Linked DNA regions of Homo sapiens: regions 1, 2 and 4 are each linked to region 3. Evidence: promoter capture Hi-C in 16 types of primary human blood cells and fetal thymus (Javierre and others, 2016). All regions are on one chromosome and are shown on one strand. The core of a region is centred on a gene start or on the middle of the fragment in contact, and the rest is flanking DNA. Distances in the headings are between cores, read along the strand shown. Region 1 holds the start of FALEC (focally amplified lncRNA regulator of ECM1). Region 2 overlaps OTUD7B (OTU deubiquitinase 7B). Region 3 holds the start of CA14 (carbonic anhydrase 14). Region 4 holds the start of ADAMTSL4-AS1 (ADAMTSL4 antisense RNA 1).

Region 1 (2,700 bases), core at 79-2,578, 260 kb after region 3:
AGACACAGTCTCGCTCTATCGCCCAGGCTGAAGTGCAGTGGCACGATCTTGGCTCACTGCAACTTGCAACCCTCCTGGGTTCAAGCGATTCTCCTGCCTCAGCCTCCCGAGTAGCTGGGATTACAGGCGTGCACCAGCACACCCAGCTAATTTTTGTATTTTTAGTAGAGACGGGTTTTCACCATGTTGGCCAGGCTCCCAAAGTGCTGGGATTACAGGCGTGAGCCACTGTGCCTGGCCAATATCCATTTATTGAACCCCTATCTATGCACACTCTGCTAGACTTGGGGATACACATCCAGAACACACACAGCCCCTGCCCTGAGGTTGTTCACTGTCCCTGAGCCTAGCAGGTGTGACAAGTGTTGTGGTACAGGGCCCCCAGCGTGCTCTGAGCATGACAGGAACGTCCCGAGGTGGGAGTGGGGCTGGGGGCAGCACAGGTGCACAGGAGGGGCGTTGAGGTCAGAGTTTCTCCAGTAAAGAAGTAGAGGGTGTGAGCGGGCAGAGTGCGCACAAGGGTCAAGGCTGAAAGGACCTGACTCTTTGGTGGCCTTCCTCTCTGATATGGCTGGAATGATAAGCAGGAGCTCATCACTAATGCCTCACCCGCAGGGTTTTAAGTGGATCTTGGTGCCCTGGCCCAGGGGGCACTGGCGTTTTCAAGCGGAGGATGTGTTCCAATTTGCCTTTTAAGAATGTCTAGGCCGGACGCACTGGCTCACGCTGTAATCCCAGCATTTTGGAAGGCCGAGGCGGGCGGATCACTTGAGGTTAGGAGTTCGAGATCAGCCCGACCAACATGGTGAAACCCCATCTTTACTGAATTAGCCAGGCGTGGTGGTGCCCACCTATAATCCAAACTACTCGGGAGGCTGAGGCACGAGAATCACTTGAACCTGGGAGGTGGAGGTTGCAGTGAGCCAGTATCGCACCACTGCACTCAGCCTGGCCGACACAGCGAGACTGTGCCTCAAAAATAAAATAAAATAAAATAATGTCTAGTCGGAGAGCCGGGGAGGTGGCGCGCGCCTGTAATCCCAGCCACCCAAAGAGCTATGGTCTCGGCACTGCACTTCAACCTGCGAGACCCAGTCTCAAAAAGAAAAAAAAAAGTTTAGTCGGCAGCCAGCAAGGCGGGACGCTGGGAGGCCAGTTCAAAGAGTGTCGTCCCAAGTGCCGGAGGGACGGAGCTGTAGCCCCCAACCTGAGCTGGACCCGAGGGTGGCGGTGACTAGGACTCTCAAGCCCTACAAAGCTGCTCCCAGGAACCCGAGGCCTCAAGGCTGGATCTGAAAGAATCGGAATGAAGACTCGGAATGAAGAGTCCCAGGGGAACAAGTCCTGTGTGACTCCGCCGCCAGGACGACCTTCCAGAAAGCAGACTTCTCCGCTCCAGTTCTAGCGGAGACGGAGAGAGTGAACCAAGAACCATCATCCTGCGCCAGCCAGGGGCAAGCGGAGCCTCAGTTGCTCCCAAACCCACGCCCGCCTCTCCTTCCTCTCCTCCTCCACAGGCTTTCATTTATTTACTTAAGTATTTTTAGCCCAGTAGCAGTTTCCAGTCCAGCGGCTCCTCAGATCTTTCGCCGGCTGTCCGCCCCACCTGTCCGTCAGCACGCGAGCCAATGAGCGGGCGAGGGCAGCGCTGTGCCCCGCCCCTGAGCCGGCAGCCCAGTCTCGGGAGCCCGGGGCCGCCTGGGCCTCCTGCCCGCCGCGCTCGAGTCTGGAGCTCGAGAGTGACACTGCGCATGTGCGGGCGTCCTGCGCATCTCCTACGGCCTCCAGGACAGAGGAACCGGGGGAGGCAGGGGGAAAAGGCCGGCCCAGCAATTCCCCTACCCCCCGGTCCCACGTGTACCCTCCTGGCCTGGGTCGCCCCAGCCCACGGGGAGCGGGCGGAGTCCTGGCCCACGAAGCCTTGTCACCTGGCGGGCGAATCCGCAAGCGGAGACTTGTCTTTAAAGGGCTTTGGGCCGGGCGCGGTGGCTCATGCCTGGAATCCCAGCACTTTGGGAGGCCGAGGCGGTGGATCACGAGGTCAGGAGTTCAAGACCAGCCTGGCCAAGAAGGTGAAACCCCGTCTGTACTAAAAATACAAAAAAAAAAAAAAATTAGCAGGGCGTGGTGGCGGGCGCCTATAATCCCAGCTACTCGGGAGGCTGAGGCAGAGAATTGCTTGAACCCGGGAGGCGGAGGCTGCAGTAAGATCGCGCCACCGCACTCCAGCCTGGGCGAGAGAGGAGACTCTGTCTCAAAAAAAAAAAGGGAGCGGGGGGGCTTTGGTCTGTGCAGGAGCTTCCCGGAGATGCTTTAGAGCTGCGTTTGCAAAGTGCAGCGCCAAATGCTGCAGAGAGGTGGGAGTCAGAGGAGAGGAGGACTGCGGTCCCAAACCCTAGCAGTTTAGTCTGTCGGGGAGGAGAGGAAGGGAACCCGGAGAGCACTTGTAAGCTACAGTGCTGAATATGAGGAGGTACTGAATTGAGCATCAAATGCTGAGAGTTAAAGAATTCTCCCTAGGGACCAGCCAGCTATTATCTGGAAGCAGTGAGTTTGGATAGAGCCTGGAAGCACGGGTAGCATTGCTGTTAGCAATAAAAGGTGAACGTGTTAACATTCACTGCAATTCGTTGTATACACTATTAAAATATAACTTGCTCAATTCAGGGGCGGTGAGTAAAGTAAAGGAGTCAGAGCTCC
Region 2 (2,700 bases), core at 44-2,543, 300 kb before region 3:
CCACTCCTTCTGCCATTCATCTTCTGTGTATACCAGCCCTGACTGTGTGAAGGACAGGCAGGGGACATTGGGCAATTAGAGGCTGGGTTCTAAGAGGCAATACCTATTCCACCTTATTCACTGTTACTTACTCCCTAATCCCTTAGCACTTGGTTTACAAATTGTACTACAAAGTCAAATCTCTTATCTCTTTTACAGTCAAGATCCATGAACTAATAGTCTATGACTATTAAACTTCTTTATCATCCATTCTTTTTGACCTACTGCAATCTGTCCCATTTCTGCCCTCCATCCTGCTCACCCACCTGCCACATAACATTTCACCTACCTGATTTTGGCAAAGAACAATGACCTTCTAATTGCCACATTCAGTGGACCCTGGTTCCCATCTTAGCCTTCACATGGGTTATTTTCCTCTTTAAATTTTCTTTGCCATTAGCGTCCATAAAATTACTTTCTATTCCTCTAAATTCTGTCTGCCCCCAAAATACTAGTGGTGTGTCAATGATTTTCACCTTGGTTCCCTCTGGGTGATCTCTTCTACTGCCATAATCTCATCCACTACCATCTGTATGGTATATACCATCTATCTCCAGCCCAGATTTCTTAATTTCTTTTCTTTTTCTTTTCTTTCCTTTTTTTCTTTTTTTTTTTTTTGTAGACAGAGTCACCCAGGCTGGAGTGCAATGGCACAATCTCGGCTCACTGCAAACTTCACCTCCCGGGTTCAAATGCTTCTCCTGCCTCAGCCTCTCGAGTAGCTGGGATTACAGCACCCACCACCAGGCCCAGCTAATTTTTGTATTTTTAGTAGAGACGGGCTTTCCCCATGTTGGCCAGGCTGGTCTCGAACTCCTGACCTGGTGATCTGCCTGTCTCAGCCACCCAAAATGCTGGGATTACAGGCATGAGGCACTGCACTCAGCCTAGACTTCTTAATTTCTATATTCATATATCCAGCTACCTACTGGAGACTGCCACCTGCCCATGGCTACCTCAAACTCTGTAAAGTCAAAATAGAACTCCTGTTTTTTCCCAAACCCACTCTTCTTCCTATTTTCCTACCTTAGTGAATAGCACCAACTATCACCCAAACATCCAAGCTCAAAACCAAGGAATTATCTAATATTCCTTTCTTTCTTTCACCCACCCCACACCTGGATACCTTCTTTTTTTTTTTTTTTTTTTTTGAGACAGAGTCTCACTCTGTCGCCCAGGCTGGAGTACAGTGGAACGATCTCAGCTCACTGCAACCTCCACCTCCCGGGTTCAAGCAATTCTCCTGCCTCAGCCTCCCAAGTAGAAGTGCTGCATACAAAGCCTACTTTCTGGCCCCTACCCACTTCTCTAGTCAGATATATCTCACTGAATCAGCTGTAGTTCCTGAAATATACCATGTTGTTTTATACCACTGAGCTTTTGTCTAAGCTGTTCCTTCTGCCTGGAGTAGCTCACTTTCTGTCAACCTTGTGAACAATTTCTCAACTTTTAGGACAGAACTCAGGTATCATTCCTCCAAATAGTCTTCTAAATCTCCCTTGGCAGATCAACCACTCCTTCCTTTGTATCCTCTCTCCCTAACTGCTATAGAGTTGTTGTTGTTTTTTTGTTTGTTTGTTTGAGACAAAGTCTTGCTCTGTCACCCAGGATGGAGTGTGGTGGCATGATCTTGGCTCACTGCAACCTCCACCTCCCAGGTTCAAGCAATTCTCCTGCCTCAGCCTCCGGAGTAGCTGGGACTACACGTGCACACCACCATGCCTGGCTAGTTTTGTATTTTTAGTAAAGACGGGGTTTCACCATGTTGGCCAGGCTGGTCTCGAACTACCAACAGGTGATCCGCCTGCCTTGGCCTTCCAAAGTGCTGGGATTACAGGCATGAGCCACCGCATCCGGCCAGCATTAACTGCTATAGAGACGTCTATTGTAAGAGTCATACATGTTATAACCTGTTGCAATTATGTATTTACATGTCCATCTCCTCCTCTATGCTAGGATCATGTTTTATGCAATACACCCAAGGTCTATTTTGTGACTATAATCAATAAACATATGCTAAGTGAAACTACAATTTTTATCAAAGGAGAGCAGGCAATGGTACAAGCAATTTTAAAATACATTGGCTTTAGGATGTATATAATGATAAGGGAAATAAGTTTAACTTATTAATTTTATTTGGCTGACATTAGTATTAAAATGAGTCTATACGGCTTAACCGCACACTGACAGAGTAGAAGGAAATCACTGGAAACATGAGGGGTACTGGGAACAAATTTAATGGGAATTTTTTAAATGACACAGCTATTTTCAATTTGTAAAATGCTATCACAAATTTTACTTCAATTAAAAATAAAGAGAGCAATGCCCAGGTTCTATATGGAGTGCTGCAGTCACTCCAATAGACACATCCAGATCCGGCTCCCTCTTCCTGGCCGGTTTCTGCTTCCTGTTTTAATGTACACAGCCACTAGGTGGTGTACAACTTCTAGCCTTAACATTTAAGAAACTATTACTGAGCCTCACCACCAATTTCAACATAAAACAAGGAAGCCCAGGAAATCAAAACTTATTTAGTGTGGTTTTGGTACTGGGGAGCTAAAGGAAGCTTCCCCAGTTCATTATCCTCCTCCTACCATTCCCACTCCCAAGGTGGGTAATAATGCTATGAATGGTCTAAGCTAAGACAATTATGAAAGCCAC
Region 3 (2,902 bases), core at 401-2,900:
CTCAGCGCTCCAGGGGAACTCTGTTCCGGCAGAGGTCATTCTGTTCAGACCTCTTCTTTCCTACTAAATCTCTTCTTTCATACCAAGATGTCTCTGCTTTCTTTTTTTGTTTCTTTGTGTTAAGTACCCTGATTCCCGGGAAATCTAATTTATACTTCAAGTCTTTTACTCTTCTTAGATGGGATGGATGGGGCTTTGGGGAACCTCAAAACATAAAACTTTCCTGAAGGGGACAAATAACTCAGAGGGTGATAGGAGAAGAAAAAGGGAAATGACATCAGCAAAATGGCTTGGCTTTGCAGATCAATCACAGGGGATAGAAAGGCACAGTGAGCTCCTGTCTCTGCAGGAGCTGATGATCCAGCACATGCATTATTCTGTTCATTTGGCTTTTATCCTGCTCCCTTATTTAGCTTCTGCTCCCTTTGTTTGGCTATTTATTGCTACTCGGCAGGAGCAAGGAGGGCAGAGGGAGCTTCAGATGGGTGCATCCTCCTGGCTGGTGCCTCTGGTGAAGAGCATGGAGGAGAAAGAGGTTTCAATGTCTGGCTTGAAAGTATCTGTGGGTTTCACATTCTCTAACGAGGGATTTAGGATGTACATTCCAATCGGGATTTCCAGTCCCGTGGGGAGCAAACATCAGTTCACATTCCTGAGACGTGCAGCCTCCATGCTCCACGGACGCAGCTCCTTGGTGGCAGGTTTCATTCAGTGCCACATGTCCTGCCTCAGCCCTTTGTTGGGCTGGAAGGAAGACCCTGAGCCCCTCTTCCATCTGGATCACATGGTCTCTCCAGACCCTCCCCTCTCTTTCTCTGGAAACCACCTTTTTCTGATGGTGGTAGTGATTGTTCCTAAAGTCTCTCCTTTCCTCCTGCCCTGGCCTCTCTGCCGGAGGTCAGTGTCCTCTTCAGTGACAAAAGCCGCCCTAGATCTGGGCTCCCTGGAGAGGGAGGTGGCTGGGTCTGGCAGTTACAGCCGCTGTCTCTCCATGGTGCTGCTACACCCCTCCCCCACTGGGCATACAAATGGGCTTTATCCAGCAAACAACGCTCCCTCCCCGCACTCCCCCCACCCCAGGCCACACAGGCACGTGGACCCAGGCCTCACCGTGGGAAGGGGGTGGTGGCAGGCACAGAAGAGATTGCTCCAGATGAGTTCTCCTTGCCTCACTTCTCTTCCTTAGAACTTAGGACACAACTCAGGTTTTAGTTATTGACTTCCTCCACCCCTCCCCTGCACCCTGAGTCCCTAATTCCTTCTTGTTATATATCTCCTAATTCTGGACTCTTCCCATTCCAGGGCAGCTCAGATTATGCAGGGAATTGGGAACAGGTACCCCCACCATCTGCCGCATACCACCCAGGGAGCTGCTCCTCAGAGGAGAAATCAGGCGGGGGGATGAAAATACAGTGTCCTTTTGAGGGGGCTGAGTTGAACCCCAAAGCCCCTTCCTTGACCCTGCCTGCTCCAGGGAACACCCATCTAAACAGCATCTGTGTGACTAGCAGAGGAAGGAAGAGCTCACCCCAGCTGGGCTCCTGAGCCAGGGCCAGGGCTCCAGTGAAACTTGCCGCGCTCCAGCTCCGAGTGGGGCCATCCTGCATGCCTAATTGGCTATTTAAGGAGCTGTTCACCAGCAGCCCAGGCAGCACCCCCGTCCCCACATACACCAGTTCAGAGCCACCTTAAAAGCAGGAGGCAGTTGTAAAGTCGCTGGCCAGCTAGTGGAGTGGAGACTGCAGAGGGAGATAAAGAGAGAGGGCAAAGAGGCAGCAAGAGATTTGTCCTGGGGATCCAGAAACCCATGATACCCTACTGAACACCGAATCCCCTGGAAGCCCACAGAGACAGAGACAGCAAGAGAAGCAGAGATAAATACACTCACGCCAGGAGCTCGCTCGCTCTCTCTCTCTCTCTCTCACTCCTCCCTCCCTCTCTCTCTGCCTGTCCTAGTCCTCTAGTCCTCAAATTCCCAGTCCCCTGCACCCCTTCCTGGGACACTATGTTGTTCTCCGCCCTCCTGCTGGAGGTGATTTGGATCCTGGCTGCAGATGGGGGTAGGTACAACTAAATGTCTGTGTGTGGATTTGTGCTGATGTTCACATGTCGCCAGGTGTGCTTAATGGGGGGAGGAGAGGTGTGAAAGGAAGCCTAGAGGCTGGAATAATAGGCTCAGAGATGAGGAAAAAAGAGTGGGGTGTGGAGGAGACCACTTCCCTTCTTTACCTTTTGTCTCTCCAGCCTTGTTGTTATTGGAGGTCGGGGAGAACTAGCGGCAGGCAGGCAGAGTGTGTACACATGCAAGTGCTGGAATCTCTTTGCAGGCTACAGATTTTCTCCAGAGCTCTTTCCCCCACTGCCCTGGTCCCAGGCAGGACTCCTGGACTTCTTTATTTACAAACTCCTCCAAATAGGGAGTCAAAGAGGCCTGGAGTAAAAAGATGGATAGATGGGGGTAGGGGGAAGAATACTTCCTGCCCAACTCAGACCCTGATCTCCAATTCATCCCCTTTTGGCCAAGATTCCCTCTTCATTCTGTGGAGCGACTAACTCCCCAGTTATCCTCTGAAAGTGGCAGTAAGAGTCAACATTTGTTTGACATTTTACAGTTTACAAAGGACTTTCAGGAGCTCCCAGGAGATGAGGAGGGATTCTTGGGAGAACAGGCTGAAGCGCTCCAGGAGTGTCCCCAGGAACTCCTAGACCTCATTTTTGTGTTTCCTGTGCCTAGCACAGTGTCCAGCACATACTAGGTGTGTAACTGAGGTTTGTGGAAAGAGCAGGGTGAGGTGGGTGTCCAGAGAGCAGAAGGCAAATGCAGAGAGGATGGGGGCAGGCAGGCAGCCAAATGGAGAGTCACAAATCTCATCTGAGGAGAAAGAAAAAAAGAGGGAAAGAG
Region 4 (2,743 bases), core at 170-2,669, 320 kb after region 3:
AGACTCAACTGACCATCTGAACTCCAGGAATTAATAGCCAGTGCTTTGGGCATCTGGCTGGAGCCATGGTACGCACCAGTTGTACAAGTTATTTCATTTTAATTTTGTAAAAAAAAAAAAAAAAATCCTTCGGCTGTCACAACTGTTTTAAATAAAAATTTTGTGAAAAAACAGTATGAAGACGTTGCTCTAGATACAGAACAGGAACTGAGAAAGTCTGGTTGTGTCAAATAAAGCAAAGTGTTGATAATTCTGACTACTGATTAAGGTTACCCAGTTACTATTAAATCCAAGCTTTTAAGGTGCTGAGCAAAGGAACACTGTACCAGAAACGGCTTCACATCATAGCACGTCAATGGGAGCAATAGCACTAACTTAACTCAGGCCAAGACTTGGGCTTGGGTCCTCTGTGGCTGCTACTCTCCTACCACACCTTTGCTTGGGAGTGCACTTACACAGCTTTCTTTGTAATGATACAAAAAGTTGCTGCCTTTTGGTAGTTAGGCTCCAGAAAGGGGCTTCCAAACCAAAATGCACTTTTAAATAGAAATGCAACTGACTGCAGGGAGGCACAGAATCCTGATTGCCTGATTAGCATATGGTGCTCAGGGCTTAAAACCAAGTATGCAAACCTCACATTTGCACATTTCCATGGTGATTCAGCTCACTTTCAAGGTAGCTGAAAATAAAAGCAGGATAGGGGTTTTTGAAATTGACTGGCTTCTTTTTACCTCCTTTTGGAAAGCAGAAGGGGAAAAGCACTGCTGCCAAGAACTTCATCAAAACTCTTTAACTTTAGGTATTATTTAGGTGTTATGATAGAGTAACTGCTGTACAGTACCCTCTTACCTCAAGATCAAGGCTGGGCGCAGTGGCTCAGGTCTGTAATCGCAGCACTTCGGCTGAGGCGAGTGGATCACTGAGGTCAGGACTTCAAGACCAGCCTGACCAACACGGCAAAACCCCGTCTCTACCAAAAATAGAAAAATTAGCCGGGCATGGTGGCGGGCACCTGTAATCCCAGCTACTCGGGAGGCTGAGGTTGCAGTGAGCCGAGATTGCCCCACTGCACTCTAGCCTGGGCAAAAGAGTGAGACTGTGCCTCAAAACAAAACAAAACAAAACATACCAACACCTGGTGATTCAAAAAAATCAAGACAGAGGCTGGGTGCGATGGCTCACGCCTGTAATCCTGGCACTCTGGGAGGCAGAGGTGGGCAGATCACCTGAGGTCGGGAGTTCAAGACCAGCCTGACCAACACGGAGAAACCCCATCTCTACTAAAAATACAAAATTATCTGGGTGTGGTGGCGCATGCCTGTATTCCCAGCTACTCAGGAGGCTGAGGCAGGAGAATCATTTGAACCTGGGAGGCGGAGGTTGCGGTGAGCGGAGATCGTGCCATTGCACTCCAGCCTGGACAACAAGAGCAAAACTCCATCTCAAAAAAAAAATAATAAATAAATAAATCAAGACAGAAATTTTGATTTTAAAGAGGTTTTTGATTTTACTTGGAGGTTTAAGAACTCCTCTAAGTACAGCAGTAATATATTTAATTAAAAACCCAACACCTCTAATTAGAATTGAAGAAAGGAACTGTCCTTTGCTCTAAGGCAAATCAACTTTGTGAGGCTTTTGCTTTGAATTCACCTGTACATATTTGCTCAGCTGACTTCTCTAAAAGGTTTGCCTAAGAGAGGGAAGGAAAAAGAGGCGTCGATGAGAAAAGACCCATATCACACCCTGTATTTGAATAAAAGATTTATTTTTTTTTCTCAGGAAAAACAGAAAGTTAGGGAAACACACTACATTTGACAACCAACATTAATTTGTAGTTGGTCCTAACCCTTCCTGGCACAGCTATCAAAAGTACAGCTGTTTAACCAGAACCAAGGTGTTCACCCCCCACAGAATGTACATGAAACACTAGAGGACTGCATGTTTTTCCCTGAGAGAAGCGTAAGACAAACAGAAGTCAAAAAGTAGTCACTGGGAGCGCCATCCTTCTAAGCAAATCCTCCCTTTCCCTTTTGGAGGATTTGCCCGAACTACGTAGCCAGTCAGCACTTAGACCACCTGCCTCCTCCTCCCCCTATAAACCCACCACTCCCCTCCTCCTTTCCCAAACCACTTGGGGTGTCCTAAGCCCTCACTGCCCCAAGCCCAAAATATCAACTAAGATCCTTGTCTGTATTTCCACAGTCATACCTAATGAATTGGGAAGTGGGGCCCCTAAAAACCAATTCACATCTATGCACTTGTTTCCACTGGATTTGGCAGACAGGCTTTTTTAGTTACCGTAACCAGATCTTAAGATTAATTAAAAACTACATAAAGTGCTTTTAGGTCCTTAGAGATACATGATATAAATAAGCGGCTTATGATCAAGAACGATAAATACATAGGTAAAAATAGCTCTAGCAAAGATGACCTTATGGCTCTGAGATGGGCAGGCAGGGCAGTTCTTCCCCATTACATTCTTAGTCATCTTATTCATACCTATTTTTAAATGGAGTCCACAGACTAAAGGTCATGTTCCGAGACTGAAGCTTTCAAATGACCCTAGTTCCAATATAGACACTTTCTTCAGTTTATCAGTAGCTTTTAAACTCTGAGGTTTAACACAGCTCACCTCTTTCTGTAAATTTAAGTGAGCATACTCCTATACAAAGGAAACTTTAGAGAAAGCCTCATAAAATGTTCTTTCCTCTGAAAATTCCTGAGGGGACTTTTGACACATTGC

What was found. Contacts are between HindIII fragments. The CHiCAGO score rates a contact against its expected background, and 5 or more counts as called.
Region 1: a contact is called between a fragment that was not itself captured here and the fragment with the promoter of CA14 in region 3, in 9 of 17 cell types (endothelial precursors, M1 macrophages, megakaryocytes and 6 more). The highest score is 13.4, in endothelial precursors.
Region 2: a fragment that was not itself captured here is called in contact with the fragment with the promoter of CA14 in region 3 in 6 of 17 cell types (neutrophils, M1 macrophages, naive B cells and 3 more); the score reaches 9.2 in neutrophils.
Region 4: a contact is called between a fragment that was not itself captured here and the fragment with the promoter of CA14 in region 3, in 1 of 17 cell types (M1 macrophages). The highest score is 5.5, in M1 macrophages.

The regions. Positions count from the first base shown.
Region 1 is chr1:150,513,991-150,516,690 of GRCh38, forward strand. It overlaps FALEC (focally amplified lncRNA regulator of ECM1), which reads left to right and starts at 1,762. Exons shown (of 6, transcript NR_186305.1): 1 at 1,762-2,072. RefSeq lists enhancers at 1,207-1,276, 1,347-1,496 and a silencer at 1,587-1,956. The HindIII fragment of the contact is 2,789 bases long and covers 1-2,700 here.
Region 2 is chr1:149,959,755-149,962,454 of GRCh38, forward strand. OTUD7B (OTU deubiquitinase 7B) reads right to left here. Exons shown (of 12, transcript NM_020205.4): 7 at 1-42. Among named protein-coding and RNA genes, the nearest start is that of MTMR11, 24 kb to the left of the region's middle. The HindIII fragment of the contact is 2,620 bases long and covers 1-2,603 here.
Region 3 is chr1:150,256,124-150,259,025 of GRCh38, forward strand. It overlaps CA14 (carbonic anhydrase 14), which reads left to right and starts at 1,651. Exons shown (of 11, transcript NM_012113.3): 1 at 1,651-2,060. The coding sequence starts at 2,006. RefSeq lists an enhancer at 1-535. The HindIII fragment of the contact is 8,593 bases long and covers 1-2,902 here.
Region 4 is chr1:150,572,810-150,575,552 of GRCh38, forward strand. It overlaps MCL1 (MCL1 apoptosis regulator, BCL2 family member), which reads right to left. Exons shown (of 3, transcript NM_021960.5): 3 at 1,749-2,743. It overlaps ADAMTSL4-AS1 (ADAMTSL4 antisense RNA 1), which reads right to left and starts at 1,743. Exons shown (of 4, transcript NR_104133.1): 1 at 1,315-1,743; 2 at 850-1,012. The HindIII fragment of the contact is 2,255 bases long and covers 293-2,547 here.